Regions from separate parts of the Homo sapiens genome. Here region 2 is linked to region 1. The links are contacts of gene promoters, found by promoter capture Hi-C in blood cells and fetal thymus (Javierre and others, 2016). All regions are on one chromosome and are shown on one strand. Each heading gives the region's core, a stretch centred on a gene start or on the middle of the fragment in contact. The rest is flanking DNA. Distances are from core to core; before and after follow the strand shown.

The links. Contacts are between HindIII fragments. The CHiCAGO score rates a contact against its expected background, and 5 or more counts as called.
Region 2: a fragment that was not itself captured here is called in contact with the fragment with the promoter of DCXR in region 1 in 7 of 17 cell types (total CD8 T cells, total CD4 T cells, naive CD4 T cells and 4 more); the score reaches 7.3 in total CD8 T cells.

The regions. Positions count from the first base shown.
Region 1 is chr17:82,036,346-82,038,946 of GRCh38, reverse strand. DCXR (dicarbonyl and L-xylulose reductase) reads left to right here and starts at 1,250. Exons shown (of 8, transcript NM_016286.4): 1 at 1,250-1,316; 2 at 1,400-1,497; 3 at 1,934-2,088; 4 at 2,184-2,226; 5 at 2,304-2,403; 6 at 2,499-2,563. The coding sequence starts at 1,265. It overlaps DCXR-DT (DCXR divergent transcript), which reads right to left and starts at 1,029. Exons shown (of 2, transcript NR_159948.1): 1 at 679-1,029. RefSeq lists a silencer at 1,030-1,859. The HindIII fragment of the contact is 4,930 bases long and covers 1-2,601 here.
Region 2 is chr17:82,179,440-82,186,730 of GRCh38, reverse strand. It overlaps CCDC57 (coiled-coil domain containing 57), which reads left to right. Exons shown (of 19, transcript NM_001394669.1): 8 at 2,799-2,957. Among named protein-coding and RNA genes, the nearest start is that of CCDC57, 30 kb to the left of the region's middle. RefSeq lists enhancers at 5,116-6,082, 6,083-7,050. The HindIII fragment of the contact is 7,884 bases long and covers 528-7,291 here.

The DNA.
Region 1 (2,601 bases), core at 1-2,500:
CAGCCTCCCACAAGAAGCTGGTGGAGCAGAGTGTTCCCTGACGCCTCCAAGGAAAGGAGACTCCCCTTCGCAGTCTTCTAAGTAACGGGTGGCTTCCCAGACAACGGCATTACTGCTTGACCAAGGAGCCCTCAAGCAGCCCTTATGCGGGAGTGACAGAGGGCTCACCTCTTGCCTTCTAGGTCACTTCTCACAATGTCCCTAGGTTATATTAGTAATGCAACAAAGAGTAATATTAAAAGCTAATGATTAATAATGTTTATACTAATGATTGATAATTATCCATGATCATGATCATTTTTATATCTAATTTGTATTATGACTATTTTTATTTTAACTGTTTTTTTTTTAAAGATGGAGTCTTGCTCTGTCGCCCAGGCTGGAGTGCAGTGGCGCAATCTCGGCTCACTGCAAGCTCCGCCTCCTGGGTTCGCGCCATTCTCCTGCCTCAGCCTCCTGAGTAGCTGGGACTACAGGTGCCCGCCACCGCGCCCGGCTAATTTTTTGTATTTTTAGTAGAGATGGGGTTTCACCGTGTTAGCCAGGATGGTCTCGATCTCCTGACCTCGTGATCCACCCGCCTCGGCCTCCCAAAGTGCTGGGATTACAGGCGTGAGCCACCGCTCCCGGCCTATTTTCTTTGTTATACTGAAACAGTTTGTGTCTTCAGTCTCTTGCCTTGGCATCTAGGTAATCCTTCGCCCACAGATGAAAGCGGAGCTCTGCTGACATTGGTGTCTTCTCCAGACGTAGTTGGTTGTCCAAATTCTTTCCCTTGGCTTTAAAGTGAGCCGGCGGTGTCCTGCTCCCAAGCCTGAGAGATGATGGGCACAGGCGACACTTTTTAGGACATGCCGATGTTTTCAGAAACAAAACAAGAAATGTTAGCCCTGAAATTCTCCATTTCACGTGTTCTTCCTGATATTAACCACACATTCTTTCCGATATTAACCACCACATCGTCTTTTTGCAATAATCTTGGCAGGGAAAAATATGCTAGCCAGGGTCCACTACGTCGATTTCAAGCACGGAAGATGGGTCACACCAGGCACTTCAAAAGACCCGTCCCTGAGGCAGCGGAGACCCCGCCCCGCCCCGGCGCGCCCACTCCTTTCGGCCAATCACTGCAGCGGGGAGCAGCTATTTGAATGTCCCCACCGCCTATCTGAAGGCCGCCCTGCCATTGGCCCCGCCGCGCCCCGCCCATCGTGGCCAGAGCTTCAAGTTCCGCAGCCCCAGTGCGGAGGGCGGAGACTGCGCCGACATGGAGCTGTTCCTCGCGGGCCGCCGGGTGCTGGTCACCGGGGCAGGCAAAGGTGGGCGGCGGGGAAAGGTGGGCAAAGGCCGGCGGCGGGCAGAGGCGGGCAGGGGACGCCTTCACTGAGCCCGCTCCCGGCAGGTATAGGGCGCGGCACGGTCCAGGCGCTGCACGCGACGGGCGCGCGGGTGGTGGCTGTGAGCCGGACTCAGGCGGATCTTGACAGCCTTGTCCGCGAGGTAGGTCCCGCCGGGTCCCAGCGCTGCGAGGCGGCGAGCCAGGAGGGGGCGGCAGCGAGCGGGGGCGGTACCTCTGTGCGCGACTCCGCCTCCCCTCGCGGGCGCTGCGCTTCTCACCGCGGCCTGGGCGCCCGCGCACCCTCTCTCGGGGCTGGTGGCCTGCGTGGGCGGCCGGGTGGTCGGCAGAGCCGCCGGGGCCCCCGGGCTCAGAAAGAGGCCGAAATGGCTGCGAAGCAGGCCCCGGGCAGGAGTCGCTCGGGCGCAGGGAGGAAGTGAACCGGCCGGAGGTAGCGCCCGGCTGCTGGCCCCACAGTCCCGACACCTTCGGAACTCCTAACTCCTTTACTTGTCCGGCTGAAAGGTCACCAGCCCCAGTCCCCAGCTGTGCCGCTTGCTGGGCACAGAGCCTCTGGTAACTGCCCCCTGATACACACAGTGCCCGGGGATAGAACCCGTGTGCGTGGACCTGGGTGACTGGGAGGCCACCGAGCGGGCGCTGGGCAGCGTGGGCCCCGTGGACCTGCTGGTGAACAACGCCGCTGTCGCCCTGCTGCAGCCCTTCCTGGAGGTCACCAAGGAGGCCTTTGACAGGTGAGCCTGTGAGGGCGGAGGAACCTCAGGGAGGGGCTGTCCTGGAGGACGCAGCAGCCCTAATCTCTGACCAGGGTCTGTCCCTCGGCCTCTAGATCCTTTGAGGTGAACCTGCGTGCGGTCATCCAGGTGTCGCAGGTGAGCTGCCCTGTGGGCTGGACGGGAATTCTCGTGAGTGATGCCAGCTCTGCCTCACGGTCTCGCTGCGATTCCAGATTGTGGCCAGGGGCTTAATAGCCCGGGGAGTCCCAGGGGCCATCGTGAATGTCTCCAGCCAGTGCTCCCAGCGGGCAGTAACTAACCATAGCGTCTACTGTGAGTGCCCCAGCTGTGCCCTCAGCCCCACCCCAGCCCCAGCCTCGCCCTCATCACCGACCCCAGCCCCAGCCAGCTTGGGTTCCTCTTCGTAGGCTCCACCAAGGGTGCCCTGGACATGCTGACCAAGGTGATGGCCCTAGAGCTCGGGCCCCACAAGGTGAGCAGGGCTGGGGTACCTCCCCCAACCTAGGACAC
Region 2 (7,291 bases), core at 3,220-5,719, 140 kb before region 1:
GACCCAAGTGATCCTCCCACACTGACCTCCCAAAGTGCTGGGATTATAGGCATGAGCCACCACCGATAGAGAATTCTCTGACAAATTGTATTTCTGTTTAAGGGGGAAATGGCTCTTAGAACTACACAGTACCAGGAAGTTAAGGGCTTATTCAGGATAGTTTCTCTAGATTCAGCATGCTGTGTTGTTGTTTGATCAGTCAGATTCAAGCAGAGTGGTTGAAGACGCCATGCATGGGAGGCACCTAAAGCCTCTGCGGTCGGTGTGCGGGGCGACCTCTGTGGTCGGTATACGGGGTGAGAGGGGCCGCAGGTGCTTCCATTTTCCATGTAGTGCGGCCGAGGTGACTGGGCGTCACCACTCCTGTGCGCCTAACCTTGGCCCCCCGTTGCAGTCTTAAGCTAAATGTTGTTCTTGAATGTCTTTTCGTTTTCTGTCCGTAAATACTCTTTGCTCATTGAGAATTATTACTACACATATGCAGTATTATTTTGGTAGTAAGAAACAGACTTCTACATTCTAAAGCTTGTATCTTTCCTCTTTTACTTCTGGGGAGTTCAGCTATCATTCGGATCCCATGATCCCAAGTATGAGCTGGCATTAAATGATGACCTCGGCTAGGCACAGTGGCTCACACCTCTAATCCCAGCACTTTGGGAGGCTGAGGCAGGAGGATCACTTGAGCCTGGGCAACGAAACAAGACCCTATGTCTACCCAAAGAAAAGTTAGACAGGTACGGTGGTGCTCACCTATAGTCCTAGCTACTCAGGAGGCAGAGCAAGACTCTGTCTCTAAAAAAATAATTTTTTAACTAAAAAAATAGAAATAAGTGACAGCCATATTTATTTCAGTTCCTTTTTTTCTTTCTTAAAATGAAGTAGAGATGGGGTCTCCCCATGTTGCCCAGGATGGTCTCAAACTCCTGGACTTAAGTGATCCTCCCATCTCAGCCTCCCAAAGTGCTGGGATTATAGGCATGAGCCACCGTGCCTGGCCAGCTTTGTAGTTCTTAATAGGTTTTTCAGCAGTTTTGTGCTGGTTTGGAGTTTGGAACTACAGAGAAAACCTGTAGGATTAACAGGAAAGCATTTTTTTCTTCCTTTTTTTTTTTGTGACAAGGTCTCACTCTGTCACCCAGGCTGGAGTGCAGTGGCGTGATCTCGGTTCACTGCAGCCTACACCTCCTGGGCTCAGGTGATCCACCCCCCTCAGCCTCCCAGGTAGCTGGGACTACAGGTGCGTGCCACCACACCCGGCTAATTTTTGTATTTTGAGTAGAGACAGGGTTTAGTCATGTTGCCCAGGCTGGTTTCGAGCTCTGGGACCTCAAGCAGTCTGCCTGCCTCGGCCTCCCAAAGTGCTGGCATTACAGGCATGAGCCACCATGCCCAGCCTTCTTTTTTATTTTAACCATCCCATTACGCAGAAGAAAGAGAAGACTGGAAAGCAGCAGTGCGATCATGGCTCACTGGAGCCTCGACCTCCTGGGCTCAGGTGATCCTTCCACCTTGGCTTCTCACAAAAAGCATTTACGCTCTTGTGGTGAGCAGTGCACTCCCGCTCGTGGCCGTGGTGTCCTCTGTCCCTGCAGTGAGGGCTCAGCAGCCGTGCCCATTGATCTACACCTGAGACTGTGCATCAGGGGAGACTGTCCAGGAGGCCCCAGGCAGAGTCACATCACCATCCTGATGCTGGGAGTGGGGCTGGCCCTCATAATTAGGTGGCTCATGGTCCAGGGATAAAGCTGCTTCCCAGAGCACCAGAGGCCGTTGGTGAGTCTGTTTCTTCAGTACCCACGCAAAGCGTGGAAGGAGTCCAAACACACATTCTGTGTCAGCCCACATTGCCAGAGATGGCTGGAAACGTTGATGCCTTTGATGGTGTCTCTTTTCAGCTGTCCTAAAATATGTGTCCAAAACTGTTGGCAGGGTGGCTTTTTTTCCATTCTATATAATACCAGGCTTGAGTGCACCACTCATGCTAGGTTTAACCCCTCGTGACAAGGGGTGGCCTCTGTGGGGGCAGCCAGCTCACCCTCTGCTTCTCACTGTCAGTTGGAAGTTCATCAGCACAGGAGCATCTGAAGGTCTGTCGTGTGTGATGCTACAGTTGCTCTTGTGGGCCGTCTTCCCATCTCTTAGGGAAACAGGGCTACGCCCATGCAAGTGGGCAGGTATCATCTTGCCTAGGTTAGTACTGTGGCTACCTGAGTTAACAGCTCTAGATATTGTCCCGAACATTTTCTTGGGAAATTTATTCCATTTTGGGTAATTCTCCCAGAGGCATCCTGCTGTTAAGGTTATTTAGTGGGTTCTGTAGAACCTTATTTTACCATGCAACTTGAAAATGTGCTGAATGTCTCTGCACGTGGGGTGCTGTGCTAGGCATGGCGAGGACATGAGGGTGACTTGGTCAGAGGTGTTGCTACCTCATGACTGTGGGCTCTGTGGGCATGGGAGGCATGTCATGCCTCACCTTCCGCCCACCAAGAACCTGGCACATGGCCTGGTGTGCTGCAGGAGCTTAGCTGGAATCTGGGTTGGTGGGATGCATGCATGCATGGAGGTAGTTGGGTGGACGGATGCTTAATTCTTCCTGTGCGGAACCATCTTCATCATCTAGGCCAGGAAGTTTCAGCTCGAGAGCTGTGTGTGTGTGTGTGTGTGTGTGTGTGTGTGTGTGTGTGTGTGTGTGTGTGCGCGCGCGCGCGCGCATGTGTATTTGCTGGGGGGTGCTGTGTAAGAGACAACTTTAGTGAGTGAGAACCACATCTACATAGTTTCCCTTCTATGTTTAGACTTCGTGAAGATGCATCAACTGTAAAATCTGCCTGGGATGCTCAAATTGCTCAACTATCTAAGGAGATGGTCTCCAGAGACCTTCAGATTCAGACGCTGCAGGAAGAAGAGGTGAAGCTCAAGGCACAGGTGGCCCGATCCCAGCAGGACATTGAAAGGTAACTGTCCCCAGGCAGATGTTTCCATTGAGGGTCTCCTATGGGCAGGTGCTGTTGTAGGTACTAAGGATTCAAAACTGAACAGATTGAGTCCCTGGCCTCACATTTTCTTGGGGGAGAAAGACAGTGAACAAGACAGATAGAATGTCTGGTCACGCAGGGGTGGTGTGGGAAGACATGCAGAAGGGGCCGCCTGCTGGAGGGAGCATGGCCAGAGGATGGTGTTTCTCAGTCTGTAATAAGAGCCATAAAGGTGCTCCTGCTTGATTCTGCACTAAGAATCTCCTCTTGCCAAGCGTGGTGGCTCACACCTATAATCCCAGCACTTAGGGAGGCAGAAGCAGGAGGATTGCTGGAACCCAGGAGTTGGAGACCAGCCTGGTTAACATAGTGAGACCCCATCTCTGCAAAAAGGAAAACAAAAACAAAGAATCTCCTCGTCTGTCTTGTCTGATTGTTCATGTCCTCATGTGTTTCTTATCCGTTGGGGCGAACACTTCCTTGAACAAAGATAGCATTCTATTTCCCATACACATTCAAGTCAACTTTATTACAGAATACATATGCTAAACTCATCCATTTTAACTCTACACTTGATGAATTTTGATGAATGTGTATGCTGTATGATATCATTTGGCTCTATGTCCCCCCCCAAATCTAATCTCAAATTGTAATCCCCATGTGTCAAGGGAGGACCCTGATGGGAGGTGATTGGCTCATGGGGGCGGTTTCCCCGATGCTGTGCTTATGATAGTAAGTGAGTTCTGATGGTTTAAAAGTGTTTGGTGGGCCGGGTGTGATGGCTCACGCCTGTCATCCCAGCACTTTGGGAGGCCAAGGCTGTCAGATCACTTGAGGTCAGGAGTTCGAGACCAGCCTGGCCAACATGGTAAAACCCCGTCTCTACTAAAAATACAAAAATTAGCCAGGCATGGTGGCTCACGCCTGTAGTCCCAGATACTCCAGAGGCTGAGGTGGGAGAATCACTTGAACCCAGGAGGCGGAGGTTTTGGTGAGCCCAGATCGTGCCACTGCATTCCAGCCTGGGCAGCAGAGTGAGATTCTGTCTCAAAAAAATGAATAAACAAATAAAAAATAAAATATAAATAAATGTTTGGTGGGCCGGGCGCGGTGGCTCACATCTATAATCCCAGCACTTTGGGAGGCCAAGGCTGGCAGATCACCTGAGGTCAGGAGTTTGAGACCAGCCTGGACAACATGGTAAAACCCCATCTCTACTAAAAATACAAAAATTATCCCGGTGTGGTGTCACACGCCTGTAATCCCAGCTACTCGGGGGGCTGAGGCAGGAGAATCACTTGAACCCAGGAGGCGGAGGCTGCAGTGAGCCGAGATGGTGCTACTGCACTTCAGCCTGGGCAACAGAGCGAGACTGGGTCTCAAAAAAAAAAAAAGGAAAAGTACCAATGCTGAAAGAAACATGTTGTAATAACGTTCTTAGCTCTTCCTTCCAGCATTCTTTTTTTTTTTTGTTAAATACTTCCATTGACTGAAATAAAACATCATGTATCTTCAAGAAAGCACATTTAGATTTACCTATTACTTGTGTATGTAGAAAACCCTCATAATATGAACTAATGCAGAAGAAAAAAAACATGCTGTGATAATGTTCTCAACTTTTTTTCTTTTTTTTTTGAGATGGAGTCTCACTCTGTCACCCAGGCTGGAGTGCAGTGGCGCAATCTCAGCTCACTACAACCTCCACCTCCTGGGTACAAGCAGTTCTCCTGTGTCAGCCTCTAGAGTAGCTGGGATTACAGGCATGCGCCACCACGCCTGGCTAATTTTTGTATTTTTAGTAGAGACAGGGTTTCACCATGTTGGCCAGGCTGGTCTTGAACTCCTGACTTCAGGTGATCCACCTGCCTTGGCCTCCCAAAGTGCTGGGATGACAGGCGTGAGCCACCCCGCCTGGCTTATGTTCTCAACTCTTGATTCCAATGTTCCTTCTTCGTTAAACTCTTCCATTCACTGAAAGAAAACAGCACATATTACAATATTTAGACTTTTTTATACATTTAATTTCTCTCCTCATTATGTGCACGGTTGCCTTTAAATCTCTGAACTTATTTGTAATAGCTGCTTAAATGTATTTATCTGCTAATTCCATCATATCTTTATTTCTGAGTCTGTTTCTATGGGCTGATTTTTCTACTGGAGAGAGCTACATTTTTTTCTACTTCCTTGCCCATCTGGTAAGTTTTCACTGGATGTCAGACATGGTGAATATGATGTTGGCGAGCATCTGGTTTTGGCTGTGCTGTTTTTTGTTTGGCTGCAGTTAAGTATTTACATGGCAGCTTGACCCATTTGAGACTTGTTTAAAATCAGTGCGAGGGCAGGTGGGGCAGGTCTAGAGAAGCCTTTTCACCAGGGCTGACTCAGCACTATGACTCCCAGACCCCACTGCGTGCCCTGGAGCGAGAGCTCCAAGGATGCTCCGCCGGCCGCCCTGACGAGCTCTGGGAATCAGCGCACGTGGAGCCCCGTGCTGGCTGCTTCGTTCCCACGAGTTGCTCTTGGCCCAGCCGGTGTTGGCTTCTCCTGTGTATTTGCATGTGGCTGTCAGCCACAGCTTCTAGGGGATCCCTGCACAGATCCCAGGTTCCCCTCCTCTCTGCCCCTCTGCCTCATAAAGCCCATTTCAGCCACTTCAGCTTCTCCAAACTCCAACCTTCATCTCCTCGTCACAGCAAGACCACCGTGCTCTGCGTGGTTTGCCGTCCCTGCGGGGATCCGGAATGGCCTGTGGAGAGAAGCCGGGCGGCGAGTGGGCCCATCTCGCGAGGACCTTCTCTGAGGGGCCTCAGCCCCGCACCGCTCGTGTGTTCATCGTTCGCTCTGTGAAAGCCGTGCCCCATTTACTGCCCAGTGTCCCAGTTGTTTAAAGTGGGAAGATAGGCATGGTGACAGCTGCTGTGTTGTGTTAAAGATTTATTTATTTTTGCAGTTACAGGGATTTAAAAATGTATCTGTGGGGCTGGGCCCAGTGGCTCACGCCTGTAATCCCAGCACTTTGGGAGGCCGAGGCGGGCGGATCACGAGGTCAGGAGATCGAGACGATCCTGGCTAACACGGTGAAACCCCGTCTCTACTAAAAATACAAAAAATTAGCTAGGCGTGGTGGTATGCACCTGTAGTCCCAGCTACTCAAGAGGCTGAGGCAGGAGGACCACTTGAGCCCAGGAGGTGGAGGCTGTACTAAGCCAACATCACGCCACTGCACTCCAGCCTGGGTGACAGAGCAAGACTCTGTATCCAAAAAAAACCTAAAAATAATTAAACAAAACAAGAACACATTGTGTATAAATTACCACAAACTTAGCAGCTTAGCTGCTTTAAACACCCATTTATTATCTCAGGTTCTGGGGCCAGGGCCTGGGCAGGGCTCAGCCATTCCCGGCTCAGGGTCTCTCCAGGCTGGAATCAATGATGGCCAGGCCTGCCTCTCCTTGGAGGCCCAGGGTCCCTTCCAGACTCACCCAGCTGTTGGCAGAATTCAGTCCCTCCAGCTGTGGGGCCAAGGCCTCCATTCCCTCACTGTCTGACAGCCAGGGTCACTCTGCACCCTAGCGGCGTCCTCAGTCCTGGCCACGCAGCCCCTCCAGGGACCCTCTCACAACACGGTGGCTCAATTGCTATCATTCGAACTCCCTGAAGTTTACCGGTGCAATGAGGCCAGCAGGAGAGTCTCCCTCCAGTCTCACGCAGAGCCATGCCACCATCTCTGTGTCGCTGCCTGGGACAGGAGGGACCTCTCCCCCGTCACAGGATCACCCACAGCCTGGAATTCTGCCCCCAGTGTGTGGCCCCATGGCCTTCTGTCCCAGAGTTGCTGGTGTAAAGCCTAGTCCTAGTCCAATTCTTGTTCTTTTTTCCTTGTAGACTCTTCTTTCGTCCTTCATACTATAACGTTTCCCCTTACTGTGTGCGTGTGGGATCTCTAGAGCTCTCTGAAGGCTGGCGTTTGCTCTGTCCTGGTGGACCTGCCCCTTTACATCCTTGGTGGTTTCCTCCTTCCATTCTCATCTGTGCGCTGGTTTTCTGGAGGAAGCCCCCGGGTTCCTGCGTTCCCACCCCTCTGTCCCTTTGCACTCGCTCGGGGGGCTCTCCCATCCCCGCCCGCCCCGTGGCTGGGTCCACCCTGCTCTGCACTTGCTCTGGGGGCTCTCCCAGCCCTGCCCACCCCGTGGCTGGGTCCACCCTGGTCTGCTTGTTTGCTTTCATAGCTCCGTTCCTTTGTGCATAACCGCGTTTATGATCTTTTAAGGTTGTTGCTTTCCTCCCTCTCCCTGCATGCTGGCTCTTCTGGT